Linked DNA regions of Homo sapiens: regions 1, 2, 4 and 5 are each linked to region 3. The links are contacts of gene promoters, found by promoter capture Hi-C in blood cells and fetal thymus (Javierre and others, 2016). All regions are on one chromosome and are shown on one strand. Each heading gives the region's core, a stretch centred on a gene start or on the middle of the fragment in contact. The rest is flanking DNA. Distances are from core to core; before and after follow the strand shown.

The links. Contacts are between HindIII fragments. The CHiCAGO score rates a contact against its expected background, and 5 or more counts as called.
Region 1: a contact is called between a fragment that was not itself captured here and the fragment with the promoter of ASB18 in region 3, in 1 of 17 cell types (total B cells). The highest score is 5.9, in total B cells.
Region 2: a fragment that was not itself captured here is called in contact with the fragment with the promoter of ASB18 in region 3 in 1 of 17 cell types (neutrophils); the score reaches 6.6 in neutrophils.
Region 4: a fragment that was not itself captured here is called in contact with the fragment with the promoter of ASB18 in region 3 in 1 of 17 cell types (endothelial precursors); the score reaches 5.9 in endothelial precursors.
Region 5: a fragment that was not itself captured here is called in contact with the fragment with the promoter of ASB18 in region 3 in 1 of 17 cell types (naive B cells); the score reaches 5.4 in naive B cells.

What each region holds. Positions count from the first base shown.
Region 1 is chr2:236,983,514-236,989,190 of GRCh38, reverse strand. The region is part of intron 1 of COPS8-DT (COPS8 divergent transcript); the gene reads left to right. Among named protein-coding and RNA genes, the nearest start is that of COPS8-DT, 99 kb to the left of the region's middle. The HindIII fragment of the contact is 3,289 bases long and covers 564-3,852 here.
Region 2 is chr2:237,118,054-237,123,767 of GRCh38, reverse strand. No RefSeq gene overlaps it. Among named protein-coding and RNA genes, the nearest start is that of COPS8, 35 kb to the right of the region's middle. The HindIII fragment of the contact is 1,895 bases long and covers 3,165-5,059 here.
Region 3 is chr2:236,263,072-236,268,861 of GRCh38, reverse strand. ASB18 (ankyrin repeat and SOCS box containing 18) reads left to right here and starts at 4,456. Exons shown (of 6, transcript NM_212556.4): 1 at 4,456-4,721. The coding sequence starts at 4,517. The HindIII fragment of the contact is 4,209 bases long and covers 3,747-5,790 here.
Region 4 is chr2:237,071,496-237,076,819 of GRCh38, reverse strand. The region is part of intron 1 of COPS8-DT (COPS8 divergent transcript); the gene reads left to right. Among named protein-coding and RNA genes, the nearest start is that of COPS8-DT, 12 kb to the left of the region's middle. RefSeq lists an enhancer at 621-1,190. The HindIII fragment of the contact is 542 bases long and covers 1,614-2,155 here.
Region 5 is chr2:237,034,294-237,040,208 of GRCh38, reverse strand. The region is part of intron 1 of COPS8-DT (COPS8 divergent transcript); the gene reads left to right. LOC105373950 (a long non-coding RNA gene) reads right to left here and starts at 3,535. Exons shown (of 3, transcript XR_007088140.1): 1 at 1-3,535. The HindIII fragment of the contact is 1,403 bases long and covers 3,420-4,822 here.

The DNA.
Region 1 (5,677 bases), core at 959-3,458, 720 kb before region 3:
TCTGTGCTTGTCACAGCTGCTTCTCTGCAGACTGAGGTCCAGGGCGCTGGGGTGACAGACAGCACACAGCCACACCGGCCGGTCACAGGGAGGACCTTGCTGTGTGCTGCACATATTTGTGACCTGACCAATGACTGGCAGGCTGCATCCTGGACTGAACCTAGAAGACACGCCTCTGGGGTGAAGAGGGGTCAACAAAGCAGCTCGTGTTCCCTGCTCCAAAGGACGCAGCTGCAGAGTGTTTTGGTCATGGAGAATTGCTACCGTCCCCAACTCAGAACTTGGAACAGACTGTCTCGTCTCCAAAATACAAAATAAAAAAAAAAAGATCAACAGGAACCCAAAGAGAGGTGAGGAAAAGTGCAGTTGTGCAACAAGCCCGCTGTTCTTGCCATGAGGAAATGCTGAAGTCACTTAGAACTGATGACTGAAATGATTGTGGCAAGTGCTTTCTTGCCACACTGGGTAAGGGGGCATTTCCCTATTAAAGTCCCTTACCATTTTCTAAGGGGTGCAGTTTAAGGACGTCTTTCCGTAAAATACCCAATTGTACTAACTAAGCTTCCTTTTGGAGAGAACTGACCCTGCTTTTCTCCAAAGGTAAATATTGAATGTGACAGTGGGAGAAAATCATTCATTTCAAATTGTTATTGACACGCTCTGATAAACACTCGGCAAGCAAGAATCTGGTTTGAGATCCAGACACCCAAAGTCCTAGGCTGATCACTGTGTTCATCTCTAACATGTGTACCTGCAAACAGCAGTCTGTTACATGGGTTTCCTTGGAACTAGGAAGGCTGGCATCCTTCCAAAGGGCCACTGGCTCTAAGGTCCAGCTGCCCACTTGGTTCCAAAACCTTCTCTTGTGTCTAGAATGTTGGGAGATATCATGGCCTTCTTATGCCCATTGGCCAGCCCATTGGTTTAGAATGCACTTAACAAACAGAAATACAGACATGTTTGCTTCTAAGGTTTTAGGAATGAAATTCCCATTAGAGCTCACCTGAAATGGAGTGTTAAGTGCCTCCTTGCAGAAGGGTTGGTCCTACATTTGTCCTGTTGTGATGCATGCATTTGACACACAGCAAACGCCTAGGATCCTAGAATGTCACACCAGCAAGGCCCTAAGACATCACACTTCTTCTGATGACAAACCTACAGCCCAGGGTGTTATGTGACTGGCTCAAGGACTCACAACAAGTTGACCTCAAAGCTGCGCCCAGGCTCCTGGGCTGATAAGACCACACCCCCCATCCTGCCCTCCCAGGATCCTCCAGACCCTTTAATAGGAGGAGACGCTGACCTGGGCATTTGGAGAGACACAGTCTTCCTGGACTCGGGGTGGGAGGGGTAAGGGCAGTCACCGGGTCACTGACCCTCTTTACAGTCTCAGGAATTGTACCTGTTTAGGGTCCCTCAGTTTTGCAGCCAATGCCAAGGCAGGTGAGGAAAACAGTCCCTGCCTGCCGTGTGTTGCTGGGACACTTTGCCGCAGATGTCACCTTCGCTCTCCTTACTCACCTAATGCTGACAATGGCGCCCGTGGACCAGGCGTTCTTCCCACACCTCCTGAAATGCTCATTTATCAGTGTAAACTCCCTTTGAAGCACCTCAAGGAATTTCCCCCTTCAAGGGCGGATGAATGGCAGCCCGAGCAGCCTATTGTATACGGTATTGTCAGACTGAAATACAAAGAACTATCGCCCAATGAGTGGTATTAGACCTGCATGGGGTAGTGCCAATGGGAATTGGAATTCCAGCCCCTTATCTTCCAGAAGAATTCCTCAGACTCCATGGAAGGCCATCGTGCCACAAAGCAGTTCACTGCTGCTGCTTCCCTTGGAGGGCTGTGTCTCAGTGCAAGATGCAAAGAAGTCAAGTGGACGGGGAAGCATGTTGTCCAGCGTTGGTCACCTCACCTGCCCAGGTGGGTACTCTCTTCTGCAGCTGTCCCCATGGCTTCTCCACATGAGGGTGGACACCCAGGCAGTGTTCCAGTGTTCACAGAGGCCACTGGCTCAGGAACAGTGCCCCAATTCATCTCCACCAAGCAGGAAGGACAAAGATCTACTTGCATCCTAAAATAGCATACTTTCAGATATTAGGAGCACTTTTCTATGGGAAATACTGGAAATGGACTTTTGAACCTCTAGGAGAGGAAGAGAGAGAACAAGTCAGGCTGAGAAACGTGGTTCCCAGCAAGCAGCAGCCCGCCTGAACGCCCGCGCCTACACGTGGGGTGGGCTTCTGGTGGAAGACTGTGGGAACCAAGACTAAATAAATGCTAAGTGCCCTCAATGCTTCTAAAACACAAGGCTGGCAACAATACAAAATACAAGCTGAAAAGAAAAACAAACAGGTAGCCCTGCCAGCTGGGCATTGCCCCAGGTGTCTGAATAATTTTGTGATTGAATCAGGCACCTGGCTGTAGCACTGTAGTTTATTCCTCCTCAGCTAAAGTGACATACTTATGAGAATGTCGCCTTAGTGTCTGGGCTTCTTCAAAAACAAAGGTAAATAGAAGAGTCAAGAATGGAACAGGTCATGTGGGATTTGCTCAGGACTGTTTGCTTTTGCCCATGGAAACTACAGTGGCCTCAAGAAGCAGTTGAGTGTGTTGTACAACCCTCAGTTGCTTCGGTCTCAACAGGGAAAATACTGACCTGGGTAAGCACACCTTGGGTTTTTTTTTTTTTTTTTTTAACTGAATCAATTTCTTAGAAAAATGAAGTCTCCATAGCATTTGTTTTCCATTTTTAAGTTGTTGTAAGAGCAATGGAGTGAAATGGAGATGGAACTGCCTCCCAGTGCCTGCGATCTTCCCCCACCTGCATCCTTCATCTGTCTCCATATCATTCCCCCTTTATCACACTCTGACCCCCTCTCTGATCACAATCTTTAGTTATACTATCATTACTCACCTCCCAGACAGGCTCTGTAGATTTCAAATGTCAAAATCAAGGAATTCCCCACATGATCATTTAATCAGGAAAAGAGAGAAACGTAAATGACGTACAGCTCACATTTTCCACACCCTCTGCACCCTCTGTGGATGCTAGACTTCAGCCAAGTCCCCTTCCTAACCATGTGTGCTGCTTGTTGAACTATAAACTAAAAGGTTTGTTTCCAGGGTTATGTTACTGTTGGCTGATAGCATATCATTTCAAGGGGGTCCATTTTTCTCAGTGCGGCTCAAATCACTTTGGCAAGTTTAATCTTGTCTAACAGCTTTGCTATTTACTGCTGGAATTTCTGTATCTTAAGAGCACCCTGGGAATTTAGCTTAGTGGCTAAAAGATTGACTTATAGCTCCAAACCAGGTGGAAATCGGAATGCACTGAAAATATACACAAGGATATGTTGCAGAATTATCTCCGCTCTGAGAGCATTCCCATGGGCGCGGAATTAATTTCTGGTTTTTAAACTGTGCAAAAGTTACTGTATGAATCTAGAGATTTAGAGCATTCCTCAGGTTGAAAGTGGAGAGCTAGGCTGGGGAAGGAGTGGGGGCTGGGACACACACAGACCTGGAATCTGTGATTTACTAGTCCTGTGATCTTGGGTGTGTTCCTTGATCTCTTTGAGCTTTCTTCTCCTCATTTGCGCAAGGGGTTAATAAATCTCCCATGGAGAGTTGTCCTGGGGATCTAGTGAAGCAATGCTCTGGGGATACATATTTGTAAGTCTCTATCTCTATTTAGAGGACTCGCCATCCCCTCCTCTATCTAAATCACTCTTGACTTCTCTCCATTTACAAAATCTGTTTTAAATGTCAGAGAGCCTGAGACTTATGAGGACCATCAGAGTAATAGTGACCCAGTCTTTGTAGATGGGACCAATGTTGATCAAGCTTTTTCACAAATTTGTTTCATCCCACTCTTCCAAGCATCCTAGGAAGAGATCATTCTTACTTCTGTTATCTAGATGAAGAAGCCATGCTACATAATTGAAGATTAGCAAAGCAGGGACCTAATAATCATAAGATAACAACAATGGCAACGATGACAAGGATGATGATGATGATGACAGCTAACCTTCACTGAGGGCTTCCTTGTACCTGATATTCTATTAAGTGGCCCAGCGTAGAGTTACTCATTTAATACTCACAATACCTTATTTGATAGGACTATTATGATCCCTATTTTATGGATGAGATTATCATGTTTCAGAGATATCCAAGGTCACCAAACAAGTGAGAAGCAGAACAGGATTCAAATCCCATCTTTTTACTCCATCCCCATATCAAACCATGGTCTAATTATCTTTCTACTGTCTCAAGTGATAGATGACATTAGAGAAGAAAGGTTACCTTTGTAGAAAATAAAATCATTAGCAAGATTTTTAAAGGAAGAAACAGTAAGATCACTCAGCAAATACTTTGGGTGTCTATTAAGATTAGGTGCTGGATTGGGCATTGGGAAGCCCTTGAAATCACCCAGGTGAGAGATGGCAGTAGCCAGGTGTATCAGATACTTTCAGTTGTTCCTCTTCTATTTCCCGCTTTCAGCTACTTGGTCTGTATCAGCCACTGCCCTAACCAACTTTCCATGGAGTACAATGAATCACACAGGCACAACAAAAATTTCATCCAGAATATATACAGAATCCATACAAAATAAAGACAAAATAATCAGATTTCAAAATGGGCAAAATATTTGAAAAGTCATTAAGCAAAAGAGGAAATCCAAATGTCCAATAAACTTATATAAAGATGCTCAATTTCATTAGTTATTTTGGAAATTCTCGTTAAAACCAAAATGCAGTGCTCCTACATACCCATCAAAATGGCTACAATGAAAAGAGTGGAAGGGGTTTGGAGCTACAAAAACGTTCATACACTACTAACAGAAGGATAAACTCACACAATCACTTTGGAAAATTGTTTGGCTGTATCCACCAAAAACACATGTGTGCCTTATGATTCAGCAATTCTGCTCCTGGGTGTATACCAACAGTAATACATGGATATGTTCACCAAGAGGAATGTTCATTGTGACACTATTTGTAATAGTCCTAAATTGGAAGCTTGACAAAAGCCCATGAATAGAAGAGTAGATAAATGAAATATGTTAGCATCATGCAATTGATTATCACACAGCAATGAAAATGAACATTATACACAGTAGTATGGAGAAACTCACAAACATAATGTTGGCCAAAAGAAACCATCAATAGAAGCCATTCATTCCAGCACTACAAAGTTTTAAAATATCTTTAAAAATTAATGAATGTTATTAGCAGTCAGGGCAGTGGGTCTTCTGGGTTGGGGAGAAGTAGGGAGTGCCTGAAAAAGGGTCTAGGTGGGGCTTCTGGGGTGTTGGTAATGCTTTGTTTCTTGATCTAAATGCTGAGTACCTGGTTGTATTAGTCCATTTTCATACTGCTGATAAAGACATACCTGAGACTGGGCAATTTACAAAAGAAAGAGACTTAATGGACTCACAGTTCCACGTGGCTGGGGAGGTCTCACAATCATGGTGGAATGTTAACAACACATCTCACATGGTGGCAGACAAGAGAAGAGAGCTTGTGCAGGGAAACTCCCCTTTTGAAAACCATCAGATCTCATGAGATTTATTCACTATCAAGAGAAAAGCATGGGAAAGACCTGCCCCCGTGATTCAATTATCTCCCACTGGGTCCCTCCTACAACACACGGAAATTCAAGATGGGATTT
Region 2 (5,714 bases), core at 2,863-5,362, 860 kb before region 3:
TGTAAAGTCTGTTTTGCCATGTAAGGTCTCATAGTTATAGGTTCCAGGATTAGGATGGGGACATCTTGGTGGGCCACTGTTCAGTTAACCATAGGTTCCAAGGTCAGAGATTTCAGGGACTGGACTCAGACACAGATCTCAGAGTCCCTGTTGGCAGGGGTCCCTCTCTTTGTCCCCAGTTTGCTGTTTCTCTGTGCGCGTTCATGATTTACACAGTTCTTGTACCCATTTCAGATTCTCCTGGTCTCATCTGTCCTTGCCGCCAAGATGGATTATCTGCAGGAACTTGGACCAACTTCACGGAACCTTCCTTATGTTCTGTTCATACTGCCCAGACCTGCCCTGGCTTCCCTGTTGCTCCTGAGGCAGAAGAGGCCTTTGGACTTACTCGGCCCCACATCTGTACAGTCCAGAGATGCTGGGGGAATTAACACCACAAAAGGTTGACTTTAGATCAATGTGAGACAAGTATTTCAACTATGATTGTGTATTTGTCAGTGCCTCTTTGTAATTCTGTGAGTTTTTTCCTTCATTTATTTGATAACATACTGTATAATAATGCACATTTTAAATTCTCATGTCTTCCTGGTTAACATTTTTATTTAGTCCTAATGTCGTGGGCTTCTTTGCTGGGGATTATGGTGTCAGCATCCTTTTAGGGATCATTTTTCTGCCTACCACAACTATGATTAACTTTTTGCCAACAATTTTGAGAATATAGGTGAAGTGTGTATTTTCTTGGGAAAAATCTGGTTGCTTATTTTAATTGGTAATACAGTAACACTTCCTTTTTGTTGATTCTTGATCTGGGATGTAAACATTTCTTCTTTCAGTGTTCAAATTTTCTTGTCATTTCATGTTATGTGTTTCTGTTGTAAAGTGTATATATATTTGAATTTTGTTTTATCATCCAATATGAGAGTCTGTTTTGTGAGTTTAGTTTCTTTATATTTATTGAGCGGCCATTAGCTTTGATTACTTGATACTTCCTTAAGTTGTGATTTCTAATGGCCATGTTTCTTTTTCCACATTTTTTGTTTCCTTCTTTTTTCCTTTTACTCCCTTAATGGTTTCAGAGTCACACACATTCTCTTGTCTACTGTATTATGTTCAGTATATTTGGCTCCTCTCTCTGCAGAGCTTCTGCTTCAGGAGGATTAGACTTACTGGCTCTATTGAGCCAGCCATAGCTGACTTTCTCTGGCTGATGAAACATATGTGAAAGTGACGGTGTCACTTCCAAAGAGAAGCAACAAGAGCCAGCACGTGGCTCCCCAGGTCTCTTCTCCCTCTGCTGAGTGGCACAGAGAGGCTGCTGGGTGGCCGGCATCCTAGAGTGATGCTGACAGAGAAGACGGCCTCTGCTGACCCCCAGTGGACAGGCAGCAGAAGCGTAAAAGAAACATTTGCTAGTAGTGTAAAGCACCAAGATCTGCAGGCCATTTGTTAGCGCAGCGTGGCTTAGCTTATCCTGACTGGTATGGTAGTTCCGATAAGCAAGTAGGAGGATTTTAAATGCCTTTATTTCACAATCATCTTAGATTGCTAGTTTAGACCGCTAAACTTTTAAATATAATTCAAGTGCTCTACAATGACTTTTCTGCTTCTAATAAATGTTTGACTATATTAAAATTGTTTATCAAAAATAAATTTGAAACTGTTCAATAAAAAGAGATTGATAGTTTAGATAAGGGTAGGGTTCTAGATTTACAGTGATTTTCATTCATCCCTGAATCTCAAATACCTTTCCAATAGCTACCACTAATATTAACTGTTATGATTACTTATTGGCTGCTTCCTAAGAACCCATCACTTTGCTAAGAGCTCCACATTGTTTTCTCATTTAATCCTCACAACAACCCAATTTAGCAATTGAGGAAACTATGACTTAGTGGCAGTTAAGGAACATATATATGAGCACAGCTAGTCAATATTAATAGCAGAGCAAGAACTCAAAGTCAGGGCTGCCTGATTTCAAAATTGTGTGCCATGCTGTTGTACCAATAAGCCCCTTCCATGGTACTCCACTGAAGAACAATGTGTGCCAATGCAAAGCAAATCTAGATCACAGTTGTTATTTCTATGATCACTCATCAAATATATACTTGCCCCTGTCTCCCATTATGAGTGGAGTCTACTTCCCTGCCCTGTGGGTTTTTCCCTTGTTCCTGTGCTTACACAGAGCATGGGATGTCAGCAGTCTTGTGAGGGGAGGATTGGCACAGGGCTGTGAGGTTTAGCTTGCCCTCCAGTGCATGGCTGATCCACTGGGAGAAGAATGTGGCCAGACAGCTGTGGAGCAAAACTGAACCCAGAATAGAGCTCAGAGTCAAGTCCCCCTGAAGGTTAGGCTGAAGTTGAGCCATCCATATCCTGCCCCATCAGCCAAGCCGTGGCTCTTGTGCTCACCCATGAGCATGAGAATACAGCTTTTTGTTGTAAGCCATTGAGTTTTGCCTCCTTTACAAATGTTATTTTAATTTTTTAAGTAGCACAGTAATGATTATTCCTGTTCCCAAAATGTTTTGTCACATCCTAGATTACTTCTTTAGAAAGATGACTAAGAGAAAAATTACTGGGCCCAGTGAATGGGATTCTTGAGGCATTTAATATGCTCCTTTCATCTGAACGTTTGACACTAAGGATTTCAAGATGTCTCTGTTTTCTTTCTGAAACTTCATGTCTAAGTGATCATTATTATCCATGGCCTCAGGCTCAAGGAAGCTCTCTGATTTCTTTCCTCTGTGTCAGTCGGTGAGAGAACTAAGACCACTAAGGTCACTGGCTTTGCCTTGATGCATCCACCATGCCACTGCGGGAACCTAGGCAAGCAAACACCTCACTTCCGCCATTTACAAAATGGAGACACCCAGCCCCATAGTTTTGCGAGGATGAAGTCACATATATTGAGAACACAGCAGTGTACTAAACTAAAATAAAGAACTTAATTCAAGCAATACATACACAGGCAAAAAATCACCAGCTCTCCGAGTTGGAGTCTCTCTTCCCCTTCTGATGACGAAAGGACTAATGACCACAACCTACTGGTGCACCTGGCATATCCACACCTGACTCCCAGCAGCTGCTGTCAGGGTGGACGTGAAGGCCAAAGGCTGGGGCTGAGCAATTTAGCATGTGGTTCTTTGAGAAATCTCACAAAAGCTTCTTTTATCACTTGAGGACACATCACCATCATCACCATCAGAGATGACCATTAGTTTTCATTAATGGCATTAATATATTAATATATTTCCCCACTTGCTTTACAAAAAATATGGAAGGTAGTTACCAAAAAACATTCAGGAGAAAGAGAATTAAGTACAAGAGCTGGGTGTGTGGGCAGTAAGTAGAGGGAAAGGGGAGCTGGCAAGTTGAACAAGAAGGAAAATGAATGCCACGTGCCTGTGAACAGCTGCTGGGCTCTGTATTCAGTTTGAGCTCTCTACAAGCCAAGGCAAAATGATGGAAGTAACCAATTGTAAGATACACAGTATCCACAAGGCCCTCTCTTGACACCCATATCAGAGAGCAATTTCTCACTTAAAACATTACTTGGTGATACAGGGCACAGCCCTTTCCATATTTCAGTAGAATACACGAGTCGTTTTCTCTGCCTCCTTCTCATACTGTCGCCCCAGAGGCACAGGCCCCAAGCAAGTGCACAGTGAGGGCTGAAATGGAGAGACTGTAAATCCTCAGAGCTGCTGCCCCAAGCATCAGGGTGCTCAAGAATCACTGGGGTCTTGTTAAATGCAGATTTGATTCAGTGTGTCTGGACTGGGGCTTCCAGGCGATGCCCAACTTGTGGTCCAGGAAGCACACTTTGAGAATATTTTTCACAACTGAACCTTTCATAAAACCTGGATACAGAGTGTTTGGGGTTAATTTTCTGATGAGAGCTGGGTGCTCTCACATTCTATGCGGCAGTCAAAGGCAGGGCCACATGGTTTGAATGTGCAGGGCCAACCTAACGGTCTCTGATGATATTAACAGGCTGGACCAGGGCTGGAGCTTGCAGCTAAAGCCACTGCACTTCTCCAAGCAGAGGGGCCATGGCACTGCTCACCCCCTAGCCATTCCCTTATGCCAACACTGCAGGTGACCGGCTTTTATTCTTAGTCGATGTCCAGGATAATTTTGTTAGGTTTTGTATATTTTAATTTTTGCTTAAATTTAGCATACATGTGGATTTGATCATTTAAACTGGTGAGTGACAAGTGTGTGACAAGCCCCTAAAATAACGCCTTGGCTGGGTCTTTTAAATAATTTTTGTTCTCTTCATCCTCACAAAATAACTAATGGGTACTGCGCTTAATACCTGGGTGATGAAATAATCTGTATAAGAAACCCACATGACACAAGCCTACCTATGTAACAAACCTGTACATGTACCCCTCAACTTAAAATAAACGTTAAAAATTGTTCTTAATTATTAGGAATTCAGCCTCTAATTCCCCATAGATTTTCTTCCTTGCCAAGTCTTAGTAAACTTATCCATTCCACTCATATGACAAAAGAACTGACGACTCAAGGGCCAAACAAACTATTTAAAAAGCAAGAACATGAAGAAAACCTTTTTTTCAAAAATATCTAATAACTCAAGAGCACTTCTTCGGCCCTTAGAAAAGACTTATTTAAGCCTTTGAAGGGACTGCGTTTCAGCCAGCAGTGATGGTGATCGGACATTCAAGGAATGAAGTGGTAGGAATGACCCTACACACCAAGTGAGTTATGGCAGCACATTGTAAACAACAAGACACCGGGTGACAGCGAGGAGTGAGAATCAAGCAGATGTTTGGCTCTGGCTAAGCACATGCTTTACACATCTCAACTCAAGAGGGTTTTCAAACACAGCATCAACCCCATGTGTTTGGTTTTCCTTGTCAGAGCCCTTCTGCTATCTTGAGGAAGGGATGGGTGGAAATACAGAAAAGCTGCCCTGCACAGATTCCTGCATCTACATCCACAGCTCCAGTCACATGAAAGACACCAGACGCAGCATCAAAACATTTAGCCAAGATAATGTTGACAATGTAAGATAATGTTGAAAACTAAAGCTTCCTAATCTTTTGAAGTTGGTCCATATTAAATTGCCTCAGGCAAAGTTAAGGCAGTTGAGGCCACACTCCCATATTTCCATTTACATTCTTTGTATTTTATGACAGAAATACATTGAAAATCTTGTTCACCAGTCTGCTAAAAATCAGGGTTATAAGGGGAGACATCCAACAGGCTTAAGGCTCCCAAATGGATTTGGAATTTTTTGGACCTTACTCGATTGACCTCATTCACTGCCCAACCTCACAAACAACCTAATTCAGTTTTCAAACCATGTTATTTAACCGACACAGGATAGCCATGAAGAGGTTCTTATTACCTTATGCATTATTATGCACTGGGCATTTTGCCCTTTGTCCTGAATTGCTCTTCTTAGAGATCAGGTGCAGGTGCACAATTAGGAGAACATTATTCAATCAAAACTGTTTTTGGCAATTCCTCCCATCATGTGACTCACAAGTTAAAAATGGTCCAGTTCCTCTTTCATTTAGAATGAAATCTTTTCCTGCAGCTCCACCCAGGAGAAAAAATCATGATTCACATTCAGGATGCACATATGCTGGTCAGGTGGGTGCACACAACATGCTCATTCAAGTCCACTCATTTCTTAAAAAGATGTCCAAAGACTCCTGGCTTCCCACTATCTCAATTGACCC
Region 3 (5,790 bases), core at 3,207-5,706:
GATCATGCCACTGCACTCCAGCCTGGGCGACAGAGCAAGACTCCATCTCAAAAAAAAAAAAAAAAAAAAAAAAGAATTGTCAATGACTTTCATCACATCTAGTCTGTGCCCACATCCCATTGCATTGTTTCCAGCCTCTGAAGACACACAGGAAATGAAAGTGGCTCCTGCTCTCTCGTTGCACAAAGAGCCGCCTCAAGTTCAAGTACCAAGATTGCACTACAAAGTGGCTACTGCAGCCTGGTGGATTGATGGGTGAGCCTGGCCCCGCACAGAATGGAAAATACATTCACACAAACATCTCAGTCAAAACTGTCAAGACAGAAAAGCTAGAAAAGACTCATTGAAAAGGAATTCAATTTGGACATGGTGGCTCACAACTGTAACCCCAGCACTTTGGGAGGCTGAAGCGTGAGGATTGCTTGGGCCCAGGAGTTTGAAACCAGCCTGGGCAACATAGTGAGACCCTCTCTCTGCTAAAAAGAATTTAAAAATTAGCCTGGCATGGTGGCACACACCTGTAGTCCCAGCTACTTGGGAGGCTGAGGTGGGAGGATTAGAATGAGCCCGGGACGTAGAGGCTGCAGTGAGCAGTGATTGTACCACTGCACTCCAGCATGGGCAACAGAGTGAGATTCTGTCAAAAAAAAAAAAAAAAAAAAAAAAGCATTAATCTTTAGCAAAATTAAAAAGCTTCTGACCACAAGAAGAAACGTCTATGTCGCCGGAGCTGGGAATTAGGAGAAATAAAAATAAGACAGAGGGAATCAAAGACAGGAGAGAGGATGATGCGAGATGATGGAAGCCTCTGTCCTGGGAGCAAAGCCCCAGCTGACCCAGAGTGGGGAGGGCCCAGCAGCTGGATCTGGAGGCGAGTATGCACCCAACAGCACCCAGGGGACCAGGGGATGAAGGAGCTGCTTTCCACGCTATCAGGGAAAAGCAGGGACATTTCAGGCCCAAAGAAGAAATGAGTCTCAGAGGTGAATCCACAGACAGGGCTATGTCTCGGTCAGTTTGAGTGAGTCTAGACAGGCACAGTGCTTGTCCCTTTCTCTGAGGTCACAGGGGGGTCTGTGGACTTGCGACTGTTCATTTCTTCCAGACCATGGCCCTCCCTTGGCAACGGACTTAGTGCTGGGACTAAATTAGACCCCGGTTTTATCAACTGATTTATTAGGCTTTGTTATTTTGCTGCAAATTTGTTCAAAACCAAAAGTATTGATGGAGGAGAAAATCACAAGCCTGGCAGTCCTGACCTCTTTGGATGCAGAGCTGCATGACATTAAAAATTCCAGACAATATTTATGCTTCTCTACAAGATATGTGTTATTAGCCCTCATCTAAACACATTTGTAAACACAACTTGATGTAAGTTACATACATCACTGAAAATACATGAATTATGGCACCCTCCAATGATTATTTAAAAATTAAAATAGAACAATAAAGCGACCTTTATCTGATGCAGAGAAAGCTAGGATCCGTCTGTCACTGATTGCTTAAATATATTCTACACCTTTCAAGGACAATCGCTGAAGGAGAAAGTCAAACGAATGATTTCCTAGAAGTTAAAAGGGGAAATATTTGTGCTGGGTTCCTTTCTCCTCAAATGATGGTTTAGGCTGTGGGGGGCTGGGTTGGGGAGGGGGTGACATTAGATAATCACAGAAAGAAAGATAAAGAAATAGAGACTAGAAGATTTCATGCTGAAATAAAGAAATTCATGTTGCCTTAAATATAATTTGTGTTAGTTACATTTCAATTCCTAATTTTTACATAGCAGGGTTGATAAAGAATTGCATTATAACGAAATTAGCCGGAATAATTAGCATAGTGTATGTGCCACTGATTAAACACCCAGCAGATAGCTTGGTAATTAAGATCCATGAGTGCCGTATTTTGAGGCTTTGTCATCTTATTATCTGCCTAACAAGTGCTTCATCTTTACCTCCCTTCTGATTTGAAGTTTGATAGCAGTCTCTAATAATTCTCATTTTGTTTCTTTAAATTGCCTTACCCCAGTGCTGATCATTTTCCTGTGGTCACTACCCCTCATGTCATTGTATCTACACAAATGTACTAGTGCTAGATTTCTCCCTACATGTAAGATATTTGATGCTGCAAAGTATTTGTGCTTGGAAATTTAAGCTCAAAAATCTCCAAAACCCCCAGTTCTTTGGTCAAAGAAAGAAGCAGAGACCAATTATACTCTGCAGTTCGGTCAAGCCTCTGAACAGCAGGCAGATCCTCAGAGTTCGTATTTCCCTTCTGGGAGGAGTCCATTGCCAGAGATTCCAAGGATGTCTCTATCAGGGTCCATTTGTCAGGGTCTGTGACACTAAAAGGTAGTCACTCCAGTGGCGCTGGCTACTATTCATTCATGAGCCCAAACTATGGTGCCATTGCTCCTCCACTTGGGGAGTCTGGAGTTGGCTGTTGTCATTGCAAAATCCACTGGGGTTTTATCATAGAAGGCAGGTCGTTACTATTATCAAAGAATAGAAGGCTTGGGAGGATCAACTCAAGTTCTTCACTGGCTGAGCCATTCCCCCTGCACCTCCTTAGACTAAAACCAGGACATTTCCATGATTGAAAGGCAGAGTAAATACACTACCTGTATCAACCAAGAATGCCTTCAGTTGTATGTAACAGAAAACACACAGAAAGTGCTTATGGCATAAAGACAAGAGGTCTGGTGGCTGGGGCCCCAGAGCTGGGGCAGGGGTTCAGAAATGTCATCCCCAGTCTCTCCCCCGCTTTCCATCCCACTCTCCTTTCTGTGTTAATCCTTCATTTCATATCTGTTGCCTCCCAGCTGTGATGTGGCTGCTGCACCTCCAGATATCATGTCCATGTTCAAGGAAACAAGAACAGGAAAGGGTGTTGCCAGTCACTTCTGTCCCTCTTGATCAGGAAAGCACATAACTTCCCAGACTCACCCCAGCAGCCAGAACTGGGTTGCAAGGGAGACTGGACATTGAGTGCAGGCAAAGGAGACTGGGACTGACACTACTGACCTAAATCAACATGACTCATCCCCAGGGGCTGGGCACAGTGCCCCCACCAAGAAAGCCAGGCTGTGTTGGGCAGGTGGAAGGAGAATGGATGTTGGGCAGGAACTACAGTGCCTGGCACCTCAAGTGCAGATGGAACAGAAGCTGGAAAATCACACAAATGAGCTGAAAGGAGGAAGAGGGTGTATTAGTCAGTGTTCTCCAGAGGAACAGAACCAACAGTTATGTAGGGAGAGAGAGAGAATTTCTCTTCAAGAATTGGCTCATACTATTGTGCAGACTTGGTAAATCCATCATCAGCAGGGTGGGCTGATAGGCTGGAGACCCAGGGAAGACCTGAGGTTGAGACCAAAGGCTGTCTGCCGCCAGAATTCCTTCTTGCTCAGGGAAAGTCAGTCTTTTGTTCTATTCAGACGTTCAACTGATTGATGGAGGCCCACACACATTAGGGAGAGCCATCGGCTTCACTCCAAGTCTGCCGGTTCAAGAAATTCTAATCTGATCCCAAAAACACCTTCATAGAAACATCTAGACTAGTGTTGGGCCAAGTCTCTGGGCACTGGGGTCCTAGCCAAATTGAGACATAAAATTAAGCACAGGGGAGAAGAAAGAAAGTAAGGAATGGAAAAGATGGCGAGATAGAAGGCAAGGCGAAGGAGGCCCTGTAAGCTCCACGGCCCGCCCTGGGCCCTCAGAGACCACAGCACACTTGGCATCAGCAGAGAAGCTTCAGGCACAGCTGTGCTTATGCACAGGTTGGCACACAGAGACCCAAGCACACTGAAGACACAGGTCAAGGAGAGAAAGCCCCACCTTTGCCCCTAGGAGTGCACAGAAATCCCCCTGAGGGCTCCACACTTCCACAAGTCATGGAATTATAGGCTTTGAGCAAAGTTTACCAGCCTTGAGGCATAGGGAGGTCACAGGTAATATTTAGGTTACTTTTTTTTGTTTTTCTGTGATGCTTCCGTCTTCCTGAGATCAGCCAGTCCTTCTCTGCATTTGGAAACCAAAGATTCCATTCCATTCTATGCGTTTGAGGCATGTCCAATTTGCAGGTGACCAGACGCTCCTTTTAGAGGAAGTGAAGGAACACAAGGGGTAGAATATTAGAAAATGTTCCTTTCCACAGAATAGAGGTCCAAGCCCAGTGCCAGGAAGAGGTTTTCAAAGTTTCAGGAGAGAGCCTCACTTTTGATAAAAGAAGATATTATTCAACAATACCCATGAAAGCTGTCTTTGAAAATATTGTCTCTCCTTCTTGCACCACTCACAAACATGTCTGCTGCCCCCATCTCTAGAATAATCCTTTGCTGAGGCCTCTGGAAAGATTACTTCACACCTCCCTGCTGGCAGGTGGCCCTCCGCAGGGACTGTAAGAGGAGCCAGGGTGCTGCTATTTATAGCAGCCCCCACGCCACTCTCACGGACAGCTGCTGACTTTGGAGTCGCTTTAGAGGAAGAAAAGAAGGGCTGGTCACTGCAGAAACGACGTAACAATGTCCAACTCGGATTACCTTCCCGACTACCCACTCAACTCAGATTTAGTGAAGAGATTAAAGTCTGCCCTGGATGCCAAAGATGAGGAGAGAGTGAGGGATTTAATCTGCACTGAAATCACGCCTGTGGACGCTGTGATAGAACTGGCCAATGACGACTGGATGAAAGACCCCTCGGCTCAGCTGCCCACCGGCATGCTGCTAGGTAACCAGAACGAGCCTGCTGCATCTGGGATTTAATTACTAAGTTACACTGATGGGGTGGGCAGATCCTGGAGGTAGAGGGGCAAATGTTTGGAAAAAGTAAATGATATGTACTCGGATATCTGACTCTCATACATACATGCATATATGTGTACTGCATAGACCATGTACATGCGTGTGCGACATAAGCAACAAGTGCAACACAACACAAAAAAACTAATCCTACCACAGTGGCTGCTCTGTGGCTCCATTGTTTTCCAAGCCTGTCCATTTGCGTGTGTAAATTTCACCCACTGATAACCATATCATACACATAATTGTGTGTTCTGCTCCCTTGAGATCTACAAAATCTAAATCTAAAGCATTTTCCATGTTGCTACATAGTCTTCCCAATTTCAATCCCCTACTGAAATACTTAAACCAAATGCCTACAAAAAGATAGTATTTGGTTACCTTTTTGCTTCTATAAATAATGCTGTAACGAACATCTTTATTAGGATTCATACGGCTTTTTTCTTTTTTGGGATTATATCCTTACCATAAATTCCTAGGAGCCATATAACTGGAACAAGAACATAACATTTTTTCAAATTGTATTGTTTCTAAATTGGTTCCAAATTGTTTTCCGCAAGGGTTTCTGTTCCCTCTGACAGTGAGGTGATGTGTTTCACCACAACCTCACCAAGGAGCATCACTGGTAATGAATGTTTGTATTAAATTGCCATTTGATAAGCACACACTGGTAATTCTTCACTGCCTGTCGCCCATCCTTTCTTTGCAGGTCTGGACAAAGTCTTGTCCATAGGATTTTTTCTTTGTAGGCCTCATCAGGTGCAAGACCTGTCTATTTGGGTCTTGGGCAGGAACTCTCCATCTCTTGGAATCATTTTTATCATTTTGTAGGACTTCTTCACGTAACATAGACATCATCCCTTTGTTAGGTTTCCTGAAAGTGTTTTCCTGACCTGTGATTTACTTTTAGTTGTATTGTGCTGTTTCCCAGCTTGTCAGATTAGGGGACAAGGTTAGTCTTGGCCTCTAAGGGATGCTGAGGGCTCCTTTCCACCCCC
Region 4 (5,324 bases), core at 635-3,134, 810 kb before region 3:
AACCTCCACCTCCCTGGTTCAAGTGATTCTCGTGGCTCAGCCTCCCAAGTAGCTGGGATTATAGGCATGCACCACCATGCCTGGCTAATTTTTTGTATTTTTAGTAGAGACAGGGTTTCACGATGTTGCCCAGGCTGATCTGTAACTCCTGAGCTCAGGCAATCCGCCCACCTCAGCCTCCTAAAGTGATGAAAATATTTTAAACTTCTATTGTGGTGATGTTTGTACAATTGGAAGCTTTCAGTGGGTGAATTTTTGTAAGACAATTGGAGGGAATATTTAGTAGAGCCCAGCAAAGACTGCTTGGCTGGGACTCTGATCTTTCACTGAAGGGCCAGCCAGGCAGTGAGGGAGTGAGGAATCAATACTCAGAGGACCTTCCTACCATCTCTCCCTCTGACCTCCTGCGGGGGATCCCCATTGGCTGAGCCCAGCCGGAAGCCGAGGGCAGGAAGTCTGCAGCAGTTGCTTATACGGCTGGCCTTCTGAGGCATAATGGGGAGGAGAGCATGGAGAGTGGATGGGAGGGACAAATGGAAGACACTCAGCGCACCTAGTCTGGTGACTGTGTGGTTGGGGCCCCAGTGATGGTAGAGTGGCCTCTGTGCTGCAGGGCATGTGTCACCAAGCCCCGGAAGCCCCAGGCAGGAAGGTCACCTACAGAAGAGAGGAATGTGACATTAGCCCCTGCCAAACCCACAAGAAGAAAAGTAAACACAGATCATTTGCAGCCATGAAGTGTATCAGGTTTAGAGTCCAGCCAGGCAGGCAGGCAAGAGGTGGAGAGTTCATGGATATCAGTGAGAAAGATTTCCAGATGGTTCACCTGGCTGGAGGCCGCAGGACCTGAGGCTAGAAGATGGGCCCCAGGCGATGACGATGGCTCTGCCAAAAAGGGTCTGTGTCAGAGTTGCTGGAAAGCAGCTGCAGAAATAGGCCAGCCCTGAGCCAGCCCTCCTTGTGGCCAGGAGTCCTGGGCTTTCTGCTTAGGGTGGAAACCAACCCTGCCCCACAGCATGAGTGGCTGCCTCTTGGAGCAGGGGTCACTGGGGTGAGAACAGATAGGGAAAGAATGGGATGCATTTATTATTATTATTATTCCTGAGGCATTGAACATTCAGCAGACTAGAGGAGATTACTAATTCTGATGAGTTGTCCTCTGGAGGAACTGGAGTTTGGGGGATGCTGCCATTGGACCATTGCCATTGGACATTGATGTCCATGACCAGCGAATTTTCCAATGGATCTCTTGGCAATGTCATCCCCAGTGGCAGTAGATGCTACCCGTTTGGAAAGCCAGGTAACAATACACAATGAGGGCAATGAAACAGACTTAGCCTTGGACTTAGTGTTCTGGCTCTGGGAAGTTATCCTGAGGAAGTTATTAAAAAGAGGAAATAAGCTACAGCTAAAAATGGGACAGCAGCATAAAGTACAATAGCTATTAAATTCATAAATATGAAGTCTATGTAAAAGTAGTGTTTCTGAAATAACTTTGAAAAAACATGAAAAATAATATTGTGTATACCTCTTGGTTATTATATATCATAACCCAGACTAGATTTTTGGGGAAATGTTGAAAGGAAACATGCAAATGAACATTACGATAAGCTTAAAGAGCTAGATTATGGGTGAAAAGTATCTCCTTACAATATTATAAAATCAATGAAGATTTTGTTCTTCTAATCTTAGACAACTTTAACATTTCAAACTTTAAAAATAGGGCACTTTTCTTTCTTTTTTTTCTCCTCCTTTTTACTAATGCTTGTGTTGGCAAGTGAATAATAAAAGAGAACATTTTTGCAAAACTTCAGAAGGGCCCTGGAGCTAAGGGCAGATACATGTTAGGGGAAATTTGGAGGAATAAAGAAAAGCTGTGAAAAATGATGGCAGTGGTAGAGGCAAAGGCAAAGGGGTTATAAATAAAGCATGGAGGAAGAGCACAGGCAGGCAGCGACCTGAGAGCAGAGCGATGGTGCTTCTAGAGCAGGGTGGCTTCCAGGCACATGACATCATTGAAGGCCGCTCTCACACTCATTAGCTGTTTCCTGAGTCAGGACATATGTCGTGGCTAACGGCGTGAGTGGAAATATAGAACAGGTCATTATGCTTTTGATTTCTAGTTTTATTTTAATTCTGTGATCTCAATGAAGCTTGCTGTATTATGAGGACTGCACATAGCAGGCGTTGCATAAATGTTTGTTGAATGAATGCTAAGTGTGCTCACTTTTCTTTACTTTATTCCCTGAGCACAGGATCTCACCTTGCTTTTACCTTCCTTGTTTTCCATCCACTCTTGCTCTTTTCCTTTTGCCTTCTATGACTCAAGCAGTGGGATCCTGTATGATTCTGTTCTCACACTGCTATAAATACCTGAGACTGGGTGGTTTATTTTAAAAAAGAGGTTTAATTGGCTCACAGTTCCACAGGCTGTAGAGGAAGCATGATTCTGGCATCAGCTTGGCTTCTGGGGAAGCCTTAGGAAACTTACAATCATGGCAGAAGGCAAAGGGGGAACAGGTGTCTCTCATGGTGGGAGCAGGAGCAAGAGAGAGTGAAGAGATGCCACACACTTTTAAACACCCAGATCTCAGGAGAACTCACTCACTATCGCGAGAACACCACCAAGGCAATGGTGCTAAACCATTCATGAGAAATCCACCCCTGTGATCCAACCACCTCCCACCAGGCCCCACTTCCAACACTGGGGATTACAATCAGACATGAGATTTGGCGGGACAGATCCAAAGCATATCAGCTGGGCAGATGCTTTCAGCTCCCATGGCAATTCTGACAAAGAGGACAAAAGCATGTCCAGATGCTGCTCTCCCCTCATAACTTGCTCTCCTGGATCTCAGTTCAGGGGCCGGGCCAGGAGAGCCAGGGACAGGACAGCCATGTTGACCTCCAAGGAGTCCCCTTCTCTCTTTATAGTTGCCCTCCCCAGTATCATCTGTCTGCCTGAGACATCTGTTTTCTGTCCTGCAATACTTCCTACTTGTTTATGCTGATTACTTCTATCTTCCACATTCTTCCATGCCCACAGAATCACTCAGAACCCTATCCATTCCCACTGGGTTCAGGCTCTAGTACTCTTATCTCGTTCTCTCGGATTTTCTCCTGTTGTGTTAGGTCATTTCCTCCACGCCCAGCCTTTTTGCATAGTTTTCTTGTGTGCAGGCAGCTCTCTTCTAGTCAATCACAGCTGACTTTCCCGTGGAGCCTGGGCATGGCTTCAGAGTCCTCCCAACAAATAACTTCAGCCTGCTTCTACCAAAAGATCAGAGTGGGCGTGCAAGAAGAAACTTGTCGGCATTTCTGTGCTAAAATGAAGGCTGCTACCAAATTATTTGCCCCAGATTTCTTGTGGTTGCCACGTCCCGTGTGCTTGATCAGGGGCCCTAATCCTGAGCATTGCCCGTCCCTCCCCTCTCCTGCCTTCTGCTTACTCAGAGCTCTCCAACTCCAAGTACACTTTGCACCCAAGCCCGTCTGTATCACAGTGACCCCCCAAGCCTAATCCAGTTCTTATACTAGCGACACACATTGATTTCAAAGCTTGGAGCATCTCAGCGTAGCCTTATGTCAGAGTCACCAAAGTCACCTTAGGTTATTGGGAGCCTCCCGCCAGTGGACTTTTCCCACAGTGCCTAGCCCAGCCACCTTGAAAACAGTATGTGATCAGTAAGCTTTCTCAAAGGGATGACTTATACTTTCTTAGAAAAACTAGGCTTTGGAGTTGCTTAATGGAAAGTCAATATTCAGTGAGAAAAGAAACATAACAATGTTGGGAATCAAAAAGAATTAATCATGTATTTTGAGGGAACCAAGCAGAGACGGTCATGTTTTTCCTAGGCAGTTAATAGCGATGCGTTTGAGAGCCCAGGCTTGAGAATCCTGGCACTGACCGCGTGACCTTGAGCAAGGCCATAGCCCCTCTCCGAGTCTATGCCTGCACCTGTAAAACTATGGTTAACAGACAGGCTGCATGGTAAGGCTGTCTTAAGCATTGCGTTAGATTATTCTTGGCTCAGGACGTGGGCAAATAAATGGTGATTTTTGTTAATTATAGGAATGCTAGGTTGGGATGTCCCACGACCTTATTCACACAGGGTTTTAAGACATGTCTTTTTTACCTTTGATAGTGGAAATCAAGCATTATACTTAACTTGAGGGAATGCAGTCTTGGGAAATAATTTCCAATGTTCTTCCCTCCCAAGTAGAGGTGAGAGGGTAAAGCCAGACATGGATGTCTGGAGATCTTCAGTGCAATCTCAGTCTTTCCCACCAGGGGGCGCTGTGGCACCATGCAGGATCCTTAATTTCCCACTGGCTGAGGGAAAGCGGACAGGCCTTGGGTTGGGCCTAACTTTTCCTCCTCTCTTTATTTTTTCTTTCCCCAAAAATTACTTTTTAAGTGGCAGTCCCTTTAAGTGTGCTTTCGGGGAGTCCCTTTCCAGGTGCTGTATGTTTGTCTAAGTCTTGACAGGCTTCCTCGCGCTGCATCCCCTTCTTGGCTCCATCCTGAATCAGGTTGTCCAATCCGAGTGGACCTCGTCCTTGTCCGTGAGGCTGGGAGAAAGGTCGTGATCAGCCCGAAGCATCCGTGGAAAAACTGGATGAAGTTCCCGGGAGAGTAGGAGGGGAAGGTATCAGGAAGGCTTTCCTCTGGGCACCGCTAGGTCTTTGCGCTAGGAAGGGCGTTCTGCAGGGAGCACAGTCCGGTCCCTACAGAAACGCCAGGCGCTTCTACTGCAGGTTCCCGGGGAAATAGACTTTTTGTTCATCATAACTTTACACAGCGTTCATGGCCTTCTCAAAGGGGTGTGTGAGCCCCAGGGGTACTGAGTCCCTGGCCTCTATAGAAAACTTCCATGGCCATAGGAGGGGCCGACAGGAACCAGCTTGAGGCTGTTGCATGTCCTGGGAGGTACCTGTCTGATAAGAGTTGAGGATGCTTTTTAAACTGGATTCGGCTGGATTTGAATGACCATTTATTAAGCTACCTCATTTGATTCATCTGCAATACTCATGACACCAAATGAAGAACCGAGGTTCAGAGAAGTCAGATAACTAACCCAAGGTCACACAAGTCTCAGGGATTTAAACTCAGGGCTCTCTGACTCCAAAGCCCATGTTCTCAGCAGCACTGCACAGATTGAGGAGGCCCCACAGCACCAATGAGTGTTCACCCCAGTTATGTCCAAACTCCTGGGGATCAGTGCCAGAGACAGCCTGGAAATGGCTTTATACCCAGTCACAGCAGAATATCTGAGGCCACACTGTGAATCCATGTTCTTCCTGATAACCCTTTCAATTTCAAA
Region 5 (5,915 bases), core at 2,872-5,371, 770 kb before region 3:
TTTGTACATATTTAAATAACGTTATGATGAAAGAATTTCTCAACCATGGGAATTCGTGAGAATCATTTTCCTTTCAAAGGAAATCACTCAAAGTGGAGTAGTGTAGCCTTAATAGCATTGTAGCCTTTTCTATGTTTTATTTTCATGTTTTGAAAAAACACATTTTCAGTGTCTATATGTCATTCTAAAGGTGTCCATTGTGAAAAATAATTGTCACATACAGAGAAGTCGCTCATAACTCCACTACCCACACCATTTTAACACCTCTTTTTTAGGGGATTTCTATAAATATTTAATTTATTTATGCAAAAACGATGTGAAACTATAAACCTTCTTTTACCATCTGCTCTTAACACTTAGTCGATATCCATGCCAATCATAGGGTGTTAAAATGAGAATTTTCTGTCTCAGTGTTTTAGCTGAGAACACCACAACAAACCCGAGAATACATTTCCTAAGGTAGAGGAGAGAACAGATCACTGGAGTGACATGATGTGACATGAAGTGTCTTTTCCCAGCATTATCCTGGGCCAGAACCTGTGTGATATGAGGCCAGGTCGGGGGGCAAAGAGGGTGAGCTGGCTCCTGGAGGGAGAGTTGTCAGCGTGCTGTCTGCCCCTCCCTCCTGCCTGGGACAGAGGGGATGCTTCCTGCACACCTGGAGCCCGGTGAGTGAGGCTTCCATGGGGCCTGCCCGGAAACTTGACCCCCTCCTCCAGAATCTGGGGTGCAGGAGGCGTGGCTCACACTGGAGAGGCCTCAAGGCCTGAAGCTGCATTAGGTGCCTCTGAAGAGGCGGAGCTCAGAAGCTGTGGGCAAAGATAAATGTGCCCGGAAGTTCATCAGTACCCGAAAGGGTTTGAGCCGACTCCGAAAGATGACACTTCCTACCTGTATGTAGATAGATTAAACATATGCACACACACCACGAAGTTGATAAAGAAGGAAGGATGGTTAGAGAGGAAAGGAGGGTACTAGGGGGAGGTGTCTATGAAGGAAATTCAAGTTTGCCCCTCTCCTCTGAGGTCATAAATTGAAAGTCTGTTGATCCAAGGAAATGCCTGAGATATTAGGTGTAAGTGATGGGCTGAACGCCATCTTAGCAGGCATGATTAGTAGGATCATCTTGACAGGGTCGGCCTTTCATGGGTCAGTCTTCTTTGTCAAAAAATAGCATTGAGGCCAGGCACGGTGGCTCACGCCTGTAATCCCAGCACTTTGGGAGGCCAAGGTGGGTGAGTCACCTGAGGTCAGGAGTTTGAGACCAGCCTTGCCAACATGATGAATCCCTGTCTCTACTGAAAATACAAAAGTTAGCCGGGTGTGGTATGACCTGCCTGTAATCCCAGCTACTTGGTAGGCTGAGGCAGGAGAATCGCTTGAACTCAGGGGGCAGAGGTTGCAGTGAGCTGAGATCTCAGCCCTGCACTCCAGCCTGGGCGACAGAGCGAGACTCCATCTCAGAAAAAAAAAAAAAGCACTGAGAAAGCAGTCACATGAGAAGGCTCTTTTCCTTCTCTGATCAGTTGTCCCAGGAAGAAATTCTCTTGGGCTCTGGCCACACGGTGATTTCCTATCAATAAACACAAGCATGTCTAAACAATTTTACTTCAAATTTAAAAACATAACCTTACCACTGTCAGAGGCATATAATAAAATTTCAACTTGTTGCTACTTCTAAATGCCCCTTGCCTTCTCATTTTTCTATGAACCTATGTCTATTGCAAGGCTGTTCTTTTTTTTCTTATTTCCTGGAAATAGAGAAAGAGAAGTGTCTAGCTACAAAATACAAAAATGCAGGTTGTTGTTTTCCTAATGTTAGTATTCTTCGGATGGATTAATAAGAGGAGCAGTTTTGGAACCTGACATGCATAATTTTTCACCTGTTTAAGCATCGTGGCTTTGGGAGCTTGGCACTGCTTGACGCTGAGTCAGCCAGCATCCTAGGGGTTGATGGGGTGGACTCCCCAGTTCTTTGACACAGGCGAGATTATGCATTTGGAGGTGCTGACATGCCATCAGGTGAATGCTTTAAACTTCATCAGTAATTTTTAAAGATATGATTAAAAATGGGGGTATAAATAGCATCCAGCATCCCCAAGGCGACAAAGCATTCCATGAAGGGAGTTCTTACTTCTTGCAGGTCTGCTGTTTTGTTCTGTTTTGTCTTTTCCATTAATTAAAATCAAGGTAGTCTCTAGAGCTCAGAATTGAGCGAAAGGTTGGAATTTAGGTCAGATGCCCTGGGGTGGATAAGTCGGCCTTTCTGGGTTTGGGAGACGATTCTCTGAATTCTTGCTTAGAACTCTGCTCTCAGATTTCTAAAAGGCCTTGCGGAGGGGAGGTCCATGGGGCTCCCACCAGGAGGAGGGGGTTCTGGGCCTAGGTGAACCCCCTCAAATGGGTGCCCATGAGGCTGCAAGAATCAGCTTTGCAACTTCAGGAAACCTTTGCTAGCACTAATGGACAAAGTGAGGAGGTCATGTCAGACTTATTTGCTTCCCGAGAGTCTACAAAGTCAGTTCCATGTGGTTGAAAGAGGAAACTCGTACATGTACAGTGCAGTGACTGGGTTCGAATTCAGACCTACAGAAGTCTAAATCCTGGCTTCACTGCTCTCACTATGTGACTCTGGACCGTCAGTTCCCTTATCTGTAGAATGGGAATAGCAACCCTCCTAGGGCTGTCCTGCACATCAAATGCAGTGCAGCTGCTAGCATGAAACATGCCCTCCGCTGTGACAAGCATCTGCTGAGAGTCATTGCTGCGGACACTAGCTGAAATAAAGAACAGGGTCAAACCCAGCAGGGGACACCACCACTATTGTGGAATCATTCTAGGACCTGGCACAGGATGTAGGGTTTTGTTTTGTTTTGTTTTTTGTTTTTGAGACAGAGTCTTACCCTGTCACCCAGGCCGGAATGCAGTGGCATGGTCTCGGCTCACTGCAACCTCCGCCTCCTGGGTTCAAGCAATTCTCCTGCCTTAGCCTCCCAAGTAGCTGGGATTACAGGCATGCACCACCACGTCCGGCTAATTTTTGTATTTTTAGTAGAGATGGGGTTTCACCATGTTGGTCAGGCTGGTCTCGAACCCCTTACCTCAGGTGATCCGCCCACCTCGGCTTCCCAAAGTGCTGGGACTACAGATGTGAGCCACTGCACTTGGCCAGGATGTAGGTTTTGATAAGTGCTATACTGTGAAATCGTTTAACATATTGGATTTGGAAGAGAAATGATTCATGCAGTAAAATGGATCTAAAATATCTTTTATAAGAAAAAAGCTAAGGAATGCAAAGTCTGCTTCACTGTTTCCTGGAGGGGACTGGTATTTAGCATTTTGTTGTAAATTAATGATTCTGTTAAGATAAATGTTCACACTGGATGTCACATTTCCAATCATAGTTAGTGACAGAAGCTTTTGTGTAAAAAGTACCTTCCATAGGGTGGAGGAAAAAAGACATAATGATGTTAAATAAAATTGAAAAAAGAAAAAAATGAATATTCTAAGGAAACAATGAGAAAAAATAATGAAGAAAAAATGAATATTCTAAGGAAACAATGAGAAAAAACAATGAGAAAAAAAATAAGGGATAAAAAGGCTTGTACGGAGGATACAATACAGTTACATAAGTAAACCTTACCCAAGTATCTTAAAGGCCATGGTCTCAGAATCTCATTACTCCACAAAGGGCATTACTAAAAAATTATTGTCAGAAATATCTTAGCAAACCAGTGCAGTTAGAGAAAAAACCAACTTACTGTATACTGAACACATCCAAACTGTAAATGAGCCATTACTTAGAGTTTGGATTGAACTCAAGTTCATTAGGCTTAAATGACCTTGGCAAACTTATAAAAATTACCATCAACTTTGAACAATTATTAGATGCCTAATTGCACAAGGCAGTGGATTCCTGATTTAAATAGGTCCAATTAGGAAACATGCGAAGAGGAGCCGCTCATGTGGAAAGTGAGACCCTCCCGAGGGTGGAGTCCCTGACACTTTGCAGAAAGAGCTGTGGGGGCAGCAGGGCAGGGCGGAGGTATCAGGAAAAGTTGAGAACAAGCTCGGAGGGCCGGCTGGGAAGCCGACTGTGGGTCTCTCTGGAGTCTGTCTCCCTTTGCTTATGCTAAATTATTTTGGAATTCTGGGCTTTCCTCTCTTTATGTTTTGTTTATTTATTTAAAAGAACAAAGGAAAAACAGAGCTAGAGATGTCAAGCAGAAGTCCATTCTTTCTCAGGGTGACAAATTGCCTTCACTTTCCTCCTTTCCTAGCAACATAACCCCATGACTGTTTCTTTTTGATTTCCTTAGGAAAACAATCTTTCACTTTTTATATTTCAGGGTTTTTTTTCAAGACAGGGTCTTGCTCTGTCGTCCAGGCTGGAGTGTAGTGGCGCCATCTCGGCTCACTGCAGCCTCCGCTTCCCGGGTACAAGTGATTCCCGTGCCTCAGCCTCCTGAGTGGCTGGGATTACAGACATGTGCCACCACGCCCAGCTAATTTTTGTATTTTTAGTAGAGTTGGGGTTTCACCAGGTGTCCCAGGCTGGTCTCAAACTCCTAGCCTCAAGTGATCCACCTGTCTTAGCCTCCCAAAGTATTGGGATTACAGGCGTGAGCCACCATGCCCGTCCGGAAACAATCTTTAGCTTGCTAGAATTTAATTCTGTTTTAGACCCCATATGAAGCCCCTCTTGTGATCATCCTAATGTTCTCATTATGTATTTCTCATTAAACAGGTATATCCTATGCTTTGGCTTGAATGTTTTTCCCCTCCCAAACTTATATTTGAAAATATTAATTGAAAACAAGCTTGTAGATCAGGCTGATCCTCTCAACCATCCTTTAGCATTGGGAGTACTGACGATATCATTCCCATTTCCTCCACCCCCAGCACAGCAGACATAATGGCAGTGATCAAATGCTTGCTCAGGGCCACTGGGGTAGTGTACTAGGGTGAGGACTTGGGTGGGGCCAGGTCCCTGGATTCTACCACCTGTGCTGCTTCTCCTCTGACCCACCCCATCTTCTCCAGGACACCAAGGGATTTGTGTTGCTGCTTTAATTGCTTAAAAAAAAAAAAAAAAAAAAAACCTGGATGGCTGCAACATGTATAGGTCCCCATTAGTTCATTCTTAAAACAAAAATAGGCTCTAGAATTAATTGCAATATAGTTGGCCTTTTAATCCCTCACAAAATAAATGCATTTTGACTCAAATAAAGCAATTTATTTATGCATCAGTGAAAATGTAGATGAGGGCAGTGGATTTCAAACTTCTTTAGCAGCCCAACTTTTGTACACACCTAAATACATGGATAAAGGCATAAACAAATTAGATAGACTGATGAAAATGGCCTGTATTGAGAAAAGGGGAGGGGCTGGGTCCATACTTCTACCTATCTGTTTGGTTCTCCACTGTCACACCCTGGTGGAGAAGCCACTGCCTCACTCTAGTTGAGTTTTCCCACCAGGGTTATATAAGGCTGAAACCAAGCTCGACAGAGTTGCAGCAATGCACAAATGGTGAAATGGTGAGGTCTGTATCTGTAACACACACACATGCACATAGACACACGCACACGTCTTGATATTTATGGGTCTTGAATATCAAAGGTTGCGATGAATTTAGCAATGCTCTTAAATGAGTTGATATAAAATGTCAGTGCCGATTCCTTCTTTCAGATGTGTTCGATCTTGTCATACTTGTATAGAGATAGCCAAAATTAGGCACTAAAATCACTTCCATGTGTTTTCCCTCTTCCTGCCTGTGTTTGGAATTCCCACATACGTCATCTCTGTGCCTTCTAGAACTAAGACCCCCATGAAGAGTACTTGACTGTCCACCCATTTGAGGGCAGCTTTATTCAGAGGCCAACATAGAGAGTTAGAGGACAGATAAAGCAGTC